Regions from separate parts of the Homo sapiens genome. Here region 1 is linked to region 2. Evidence: promoter capture Hi-C in 16 types of primary human blood cells and fetal thymus (Javierre and others, 2016). All regions are on one chromosome and are shown on one strand. The core of a region is centred on a gene start or on the middle of the fragment in contact, and the rest is flanking DNA. Distances in the headings are between cores, read along the strand shown.

The links. Contacts are between HindIII fragments. The CHiCAGO score rates a contact against its expected background, and 5 or more counts as called.
Region 1: a contact is called between a fragment that was not itself captured here and the fragment with the promoter of ATP12A in region 2, in 1 of 17 cell types (total CD8 T cells). The highest score is 5.3, in total CD8 T cells.

The regions. Positions count from the first base shown.
Region 1 is chr13:24,623,636-24,627,930 of GRCh38, forward strand. No RefSeq gene overlaps it. Among named protein-coding and RNA genes, the nearest start is that of ATP12A, 55 kb to the right of the region's middle. RefSeq lists an enhancer at 3,987-4,295. The HindIII fragment of the contact is 204 bases long and covers 1,503-1,706 here.
Region 2 is chr13:24,678,421-24,682,813 of GRCh38, forward strand. It overlaps ATP12A (ATPase H+/K+ transporting non-gastric alpha2 subunit), which reads left to right and starts at 1,988. Exons shown (of 23, transcript NM_001676.7): 1 at 1,988-2,332; 2 at 3,142-3,300. The coding sequence starts at 2,324. RefSeq lists a silencer at 2,036-2,345 and enhancers at 3,539-4,119, 4,219-4,393. The HindIII fragment of the contact is 1,067 bases long and covers 1,638-2,704 here.

The DNA of each region.
Region 1 (4,295 bases), core at 355-2,854, 55 kb before region 2:
CCACACCCCCTCCCCTGTGGTGGGCTCCTGCGCAGCATGGGATGGCCCCAGCACAGGATCCATTAGGCGAAGCCAGCTGGGCTCCTGAGTCAGGTAGGGACTTGCAGAACTTTTATGTCTAGCTGGAGGATTGTATATGCACCAATCAGCACTCTGTGTCTAGCTCCAGGTTCGTGGATGCACCAATCAGCATCTGTATCTAGCTAATCTGGTGGGGACTTGGAAAACTTTTATGTCTAGCTAAAGGATTGTAAATACACCAGTCAGCACTCTGTGTCTAGCTAAAGGTTTGTAAACGTACAAATCAGTGCTCTGTGTCTAGCTAATCTGGTGGGGACTTGGAGAACTTTTATGTCTGGCTAGAGGATTGTAAATGCACCAATCAGCATTCTGTGTCTAGCTCAAGGTTTGTAAATGCACCAATCAGCACCCTGTCAAAATGGACCAATCAGCTCTCTGTAAAATGGACCAATCAGCAGGATGTAGGTGGGGTCAGATAAGGGAATAAAAGCAGGCTGCCTGAGCCAGCAGTGGCAACCCACTCGGGTCCTCTTCCACAGTGTGGAAGGTTTGTTATTTTGCTCTTTGCAATAAATGTTGCTGCTGCTCACTCTTTGCATCTGCACTGCCTTTATGAGCTGTAAACACTCACTGCGAAGGTCTGCAGCTTCACTCCTGAGGCCAGCAAGACCATGAACCCACCGGGAGGAATGAACAACTCCAGATGCGCTGCCTTAAGAGCTATAACACTTACCGTGAAAGTCTGTGTCTTCACTCCTGAGCTAGCGAGACCACGAACCCACCAGAATGGAAGGAACTCTGAACACGTCCGAACATCAGAAGGAACAAACTCTGGTCACACCGTCTTTAAGAACTATAACACTCACCGCGAGGGTCGGCGGCTTCATTCTTGAAGTCAGTGAGACCAAGAACCCACCAATTCCGGACACACAGTGGCCTCTGGGGGGATTCCACCAGGGTTCAGGCCCTGGACTGGGGCTGGATGAATAGATCCCATCAGGTCCCACCCTGGGGGCCAGCATCCAGAGAGAGAATCATTAACCAACCACACCAAGGAGGGTGAATTTGCCACTGTGATCAGGGCTGTGAAAGAAAAAGGAACATGGGGTCTGAAATCGGGGCAGTGGGGCAGTGGGGAGGGCTGGCTGCCATCTCCCAAGGAAGGGCGTTGAGCCGAGCTCCCACAGCTGAGCAGCTGAACGGGTGGAGGGAAGCCCTGCGTTGGGGGCAGAGCACCAGGCCTGGCCCAGCCAGGGAGTGGCAAGTAAGTCCTTGGGGAAGGAGTGGGGTCCAGGTTGGACCAGGTCAGGTCAGTGAGCGGGACCTCAGGGGGCCTGAGAGTGAGGAAGGCTGGAGAGGCTGAGGAGCCTGGAAGCTGTTCAGCCCAGGAGGGGTGACGGGGGTGGGGAGGCTCTCCAGAGCCACAGGAAGCGGGGAAGAGAGCTTGTGTTTGGTGGGGAGAACAGACAGGATCAGATCCAAGCTTCTGAAAAGATCCCTCTGGCTTCACATAAACAAAGATTGCACAGGCTTTCCACATCTCACTTGGTTCTTTCCTTCTTAAATGAACCAGCTTGTGTGAGAGAAGATGACAGCATATTTAATTTCCTAGCACTTACCACCAACAGCCAAATAATTTATTTTCTATCTTCTTCCTCTAGAAAATAAGTTCCAAGATTTATGTAAGCTTTGTTCACTGTTATATCTCCAGCACCTAGGACAAAGTCTGAGATTTGTTAAATGAACTTATAGGAAGCCATTGGTTTGGGCTGAGCTCCTGCAATAGACCCAACAGAGCAAACCAAAATGGAGTTACTCCTGCCAAACTTTCATGACACCAAACTGAAACTAAGTTGTTTATTTGACCTTCCAAGAGATCAGGAGAGAGAGATAATAGCCAAATCCCCAAACAGGTCGGTTTTAACAAGCAGGAAGAAGTCCCCTCTTCTTTAACCTTTACGAGAAAAACTACTTTCTAATAACCAACCCGCCTTCTGCTTCCTGTTTCTGTTTTCCTCAGCCTTTTTCTGTTTAAAAAGTCAACCCCCTCTGCTGGCCTTATCAAAACACTCCTATTTTATGGAATGGAGTGTTGCTCAATTCTAGAATCACAAATAAAGGCCAATTAGGATCTTTAAACTGCATTTGTTGTAATTTTTGTCTTTTGACAAATGTAATAAGCACTCAATAAACATGTGAAAAGAGGGAGAGCAAGAGATAGAGAAAGAGAGAGGGAGCGAGGAAGAGAGAGAGGCCTCATGGAGGAAGGAGGGTGACTTCTCTGCACCTTCAGAGGCAGGTGCCCCCACAGTGCCAGTGCAAGCACTGAGCAGATTTTGTGGGGTACGTGTTGGTGTAGCAAGAAAGACAAGGCCTGTATCCAAAGAGCTGGGTTTGAGAATGAGTGTTGCCACTTACTAGAATGAAACCTTTGTCAAGTTACTGAACATCTGAACTTCCAACTCCTCAAATGTAAAATGGGTGTGACAACACCCACCTCACCGGGTTATTGCAGAGGCTGAACGTGTAGCTGTGATTAAGAAGGGCTGTGTACACTGCAGAGAACTATGCAAATACTGGTAGTCTCTACTTTGTGGGCCCTCCCAGGAGTCAGAAAAAGACAGGACCAGGTGGCTTTTTGGGCGTCCATTGCAACATCAGGGAGAGGAGTGAAGCCACAAGGATGACATGGTCTATGGCACGTCCGGCTGCTACTGCTGCTGCCCATGACACACTCCTGGAGCCCAGGCAGAGTCTGTGTTTGTCATCTGAATTTCCCAGCTAGTTTAGAGTTTATGACATCAGAAAAGACAGCAAAATTCCAGAAAAAACTTGGGTCAAGTGCACTGCAGACAAATGGATTTCAAATTTGGTTTCTCCTTGCCCTTAGAATACATTTATTTAAAAAAACCTTTCTAGCAAAAGATATTACTACAGAGGAGAGAAACCTTTCTTCCACAGCGCCCTTGCACATTTGATCTGGTTTGCCCAGTGCGGGGTGGGGACAGGAAACTGACACCCTAGCAGGTTAATGTCTTCCAGGAAGTCCATTACAGATTCTGAATTTAAACCTGGGTCTACTAATGATTGTTCTCCAATCACTTAGCTGCCACTTGTGAGTTTCCACTATGGAAACCAGTGATTTTTCACAGAAAATTAGTGAAGCAAATGGAATGATTTTTAAAAGCATAGGGTTTGAAGTCGGAAGGCTGGAGTCCAGAGCCCTGCTTCTGACACCTACTGGCCTGTCATTTTCACCTCCTAACATCTGAGGAGCCCAGGTTCTCCTTAGCAAAGTGGGGATGATAATTCCTAGGGCACCGGGCTGTTGAAGATTTAACTGGGATAATGGAAACTCACAGGCCATAAAACGCCCAGCCAGTGATGAGTACTCACTACACTTTGGCCGCAGCTGGTTTTGATTTTAAATAAGTAACCTGCAAGTCTGTATCCATCGCTAGGCACTCCGGGGAAAAGGGGTGCGTACAAAGGAGGGATGAACCCCCAGCTGTGGCTGCAATGGAGCCAGCATCCCATCAGAAAAGGGGAGCCCTGACCCTCCTCCCCTTCCCCTGGGACTGTTCTCAGGCAACGTGGGCTCCAGCCTGCAGGTGCCCGGCTCCACCGCCAGACGGCGCCGTGGCAAGGGACACCGCACAGGGCGCTGGGCTCCTGGAAGAGGGGAGGAGGCCGGCAAAGGTTTCAGAGGCAAAGTTGTCGGTTACAGGCCAGCCGCGGGAGCAGGGCGCGGAGCAGGGAATAAGCAGGAGCACTCTGTGTCAGCCTGGTTCTCTAAAGAGCGGGTAGTTCAAGGAAAGACACCGAATCAGGCATCCAACAACTGGGGAGCAGGACGGCGCCAGCCAAAAGAAGTTCTAGTTGGCCCAAGCCCGGGAGGCCTCACCCTTGCAGGTGGAGCTGGACCGGCTTCAAAAATGTGAGGTCCAGAGGTTGGGTAGATCATGGTGGTGCAGACACCCCACTAGGGCAGGATCGATTCCCTGTGGGGGAGCAAAGGGACATGAGAGATAAGCTCGGCCCAGGAGTAGGGGCCACATTACCCTTGGTATTAAGCAAAAGGCAAAAGAGGGTGTCCGTGGTGTAGCAAGGAGTCCCCAGGAGTTCCCAGCAAGGCAGGGACTGATGAAAACAGCGTTTGAGGAAAACAGGCCGAAGCCTGAACCAATAGCCTTTAGGCTGCCAGACTGGTTTAGGGGAGAGAAGCAAAACAGATTTCCTTTTAGCAAAGCGCACGTCCTCACTGGCTACACTGT
Region 2 (4,393 bases), core at 738-3,237:
GGGAAAGACCTATGTGTGCAGCACTATGGAGACAGTTCACTATGTCGGGTACAACACATTCCCTTAGTCTCATTTGAAAGCCATGATGAACAGAGAGGTGTGGAAAATCTAAGATCACAAATATGCCATGAGAAAGTATCTTTGTCTCTACTGCTACTTTACAAAACCACGTCTCTAACTGCTAACACTTCAAATTCCCTCAAAATAAGCTTCTTTTCCCAATTGTCCCTCACCACCAACTATAGTCATGCTCTGAAATTATTATGGAAATTTAGCATCTGAAAGGAACAGGAAGTTATAATTAATTCCTAATTAGAATTGGGCACAAGCTTTTTTTTCTTATTTTTTTTTTAATTTTTTTATTGTGACAGAGTCTCGCTCTGTCGCCCAGGCTGGAGTGCAGTGGCGCGATCTCCACTCACTGAAAGCTCCACCGTCTCCCGGGTTCATGCCATTCTCCTGCCTCAGCCTCCCGAGCAGCTGGGACTACAGGCGCCCACCACCATGCCCGGCTAATTGTTTTGTATTTTTAGTAGAGATGGGGTTTCACCGTGTTAGCCAGGATGGTCTCGATCTCCTGACTTCGTGATCCGCCCGCCTCGGCCTCCCAAAGCGTTGGGATTACAGGCGTGAGCCACCGCGCCCGGCCGGGCACAAGCTTATTGTTTTTCTTCTACCTTTTCTAAATGTACCCAATGCTCTTCATGTTTTCTGCCAGATGTTCTAGTCACTGCATGATGGGATTGTTACTTTTGCTGCTTCTCTGGACTCCTCACTCTTAGTCATTTTAAATATGGTCAAAATGACAATCTTTCTTACCATATTTGATATATAACTTTCAAAAAGAATAAAACTTAGCACCCTCCTATTAGTCCTTATCTAAATGGAAACTTATTAGCAGAGCATCAAGGGCCCAATAAAGTGCCCCCTCTTTTGAAACTTATCTCTACTCCCTTTCATATATTTCAATCATGTCAATTTCTTATTGTTCTTCTAAATAGGTGCTGATTACTAAACTCTATTCGTGGGTTTTATTTTTTATGTTCCTCTCCATTAATTAATATTCTTCACTGACTTTAAGACTTCACGATTCATTCTTTTAAAAGAACGTGTTTGATTTCCTCCACTGTTAACTGCTAAATATCTCTCTGATATATTGTTTTCAGGCTATCTTTCTCATCTGGAGTAATTATGTTTCAAGTGTCAGGGGGAAAATACCTTTTCTATCCTGTGCAAAAACTCATGCTGGGCACTAAGAGCATGGAGCATGTCCCAGTTATCTATTGCTGCATAACAAACCAACCCAAACTTAGCAGTATAAAACAACCACTGCTTTAGTATGCACATCAACTTTCAGGGTCAGAAATTCTTTTCTCCTTCATGTATAGAGTCTCAGCTGGGAGTGACATAAATAGGTGGAGACAGACCTCTCCAGCCCAGTCCAGCCAACAGCCTCCGCTCCTGCGCACCCGCAGCCTGGGGCCCCAGGTTCCTGTGGTCTCACCGACCCTAATCCTCTCATCTCTCCTCCCCATTCCCTCTCCAAATTGTTTCAGAATTCCAAATTCTTATCTGGATCCGGCAAATTAATTCAGCTACTCTTCAGAGTCTCTCAGTTATTCCCAAATTCTCTCGGAAGCTTGAATTTACCTATCTAAATCCATTCTCAAAAACACATTGGCCTTTTCTAGCCGGGACATCTCCAACAGTAGTTGCTGTTAGAAACTGCAATTTCCCCTTCTCTGCATACACATTTTTATAAATTGATTTATTGGTAGGCAAATTACATTTTTAAAAAAAGGCATGTGTGGGTTTTCAGGGAAGCCTGGACAGGACGTGGGCGTGCCGGGAGCTCGCCGGAGCAGCTGGTCCGGCTCTGGGCGCCCAGCGGAACCAGGGCTGTACTCACCTGGATGCCGGACCCGCCCCCTAGAGACCCCGCCCCCTGGCGTTCGGCTACTAAAGGGAAGGGGATTCCCAGGGGGTCCTCAATCCTGGACTCTCCCGACCCCTAGCTGTCGGTCCCCCTCCCTGCGCGCGCGCCGGCGGGTTTCCTACCCTCCGAGGCGTCCGCTGGCCTGCGCCCTGGCGGGGACGTGGGCGGGGCGGGCGGCATTTAAGGCTGGTGCCACCTCCCCGGTGCAGCGGCTGGCGATCGGCCGCGGAGGTGCGTGCAGGGCCCGCGCCGCCGCCGGTATCTCCACCGCCAACACCTCAGCCACTGCCACTGCCACAGCCACACGAGGCCCCCCACCGTGCGCTCCGCCGCTGCGGTCCCGGATCCGCGCTCCACGCCCGCAGCCCGCGGCGCCACCAGCCCAGCATGCACCAGGTGCGTGCAGCCCCCGCGCCGGCCGAGGATGCGAGACGCTGGGCCAAGGCCCCGGGGACCGGAGCAGGCTGACGGGAAGCGAGGAAAAGGCGAAGAGGAGAAACGCCCCGTCCCGGGGCAAGGGGAGGCCGCCTTTCCTCTGAGCGCCCCCCGGCCTGGGCACCGCTTCTCTGACTCCCCGCCACGGCTCCGTGCGGCCGCCGGGGCTGGCTGGGGAAAGAAGCCAGTCCAGAGGAGCGAGAAGGGGCCAAGGGGTCCTAGGCCAGCTCCATGGCACCTGCGGGCTCCGACTCGGAGGATGGGGTGACATGGATTCGTTGCGGTCTGAAAAGACTTCCGGTTAGGGCCCCCTGATCAGGACTGAGGGTCGTAAGCTTAGTGGGTGCCTCCTCCCCAAGAAACAGGACGCACAGCTGTTGTGTCCCCTGGGAAGGACACCTCAGAGGAAACCTCGAGGTGCCTAAGGAACCTCGAGGTTCTAAGGAAACCTCACAGCTCCTTGGAGGCATCAGTCAGGAGTTGGGGGGGTAACTTCCCACCTGCTCCACCCAGAGAAGGGTCACCCTGAGGAGCTGCTGGCTGGCCTGTGCCCACCCCGCCTCCCCTCTACACGGACGGAGAGGAAGCCAAGGTCGGCGGGAGGTGGGGGAGAGACTCCACTGTCCGACTCCCTCCGGCCTCCCCAGAGGAGGGAAGGAAAGGGAGAAGGGGCTCCTGACTCCTGCAGGTCCTGACCCCGCAGAGGGGCGCTCAGCACCTCTTCGGAAACCCCATTTGGGGCCAATATTGCACCTGGGCTTCTCTTTCAGAAAACCCCAGAAATTTACTCCGTGGAGCTCAGCGGAACTAAGGACATCGTGAAAACAGACAAGGGGGATGGCAAGGAGAAGTATAGGGGTCTGAAGAACAACTGCCTGGAACTCAAAAAGAAAAATCACAAAGAGGAGTTTCAGAAAGAACTCCATCTGGTCAGTAGCCTTAAGCCACGGGGTCCTGCCGGCTATGGCCCTTCCCCGCAAGAGCTTGCCCCTAGAACCCACCTCTTACCACAGACATTCAGTCTGAGGGATTTGAAATCCCCTTGAGATTGTGTGTGGTGTGTGGTGTCTGCGTGGTGTGTCTGTGTGGTGTGTGTGTGTGGTGTATGTGTGGTGTGTGTGTATGTGTGGTGTGTCTGTGTAGTGTGTGGTGTGTGTGTGTATGTGTGGTGTGTGGTGTATGGTGTGTGGTGTGTGTGTATGGTGTGTGGTGTGTGTATATGGTGTGTGTAGTGTGTGGTGTGTGTATGTGTGTGGTGTGTGTGTATGGTGTGTGTGTATGGTGTGTGTATGTGTGGTGTGTGTGATGTGTGTGTGATGTGTGTGTGGTGTGTGTGTGTGGTGTGTATATGTGTGTGGTGTGTGTGTGGTGTGTGTATGTGTGTGGTGTGTGTATGTGTGTGGTATATATGTGTGTGGTGTGTGTGGTGTGTGTATGTGCATGGTATGTGTGGTGTGTGTGTAGCGTGTGGTGTGTGTGTAGTGTGTGGTGTGTATGTGTGGTGTGTGTATGTGCATGGTATGTGTGGTGTGTGTGTAGCGTGTGGTGTGTGTGTAGTGTGTGGTGTATATGTGTGGTGTGTGGTGTGTGTGTGGTGTGTGGTGTGTGTATGTGTGTGTGTGTGTTTTGAATGGTGTGATAGTATCCACCCAGAGGTCAGGGCCTCTGCAGGATTCCTGCATTCTGGTTGGAGGCAGTCCCTGTAGAACTCAGAAGGAAGAGCCTCTGATTCCAGGCCCCACAGGCATGGCCAGACCTCTCTCCCCGCAGCTGCTTCAGTGAGAGTTAAGTAACCACTTGCCAGTTTTCAATTGATTAGTAAAACTATTTGAGCTGGAACTTCTGAGGAGGAAAACCAAAGCCCCTAGGCCATGCTAGATTGCAGGTGTGAAACCTCATGGAAAAGCAGTTTCAGTGGTAAAAATGTGGAGCTTGGATTGGGAGGACCTCGGGCCCCATCAGAGTCCCACTTCTCCACTGAGCTGAAACTGGCAACAAATGACTGACCCTCACTGAAGGTCC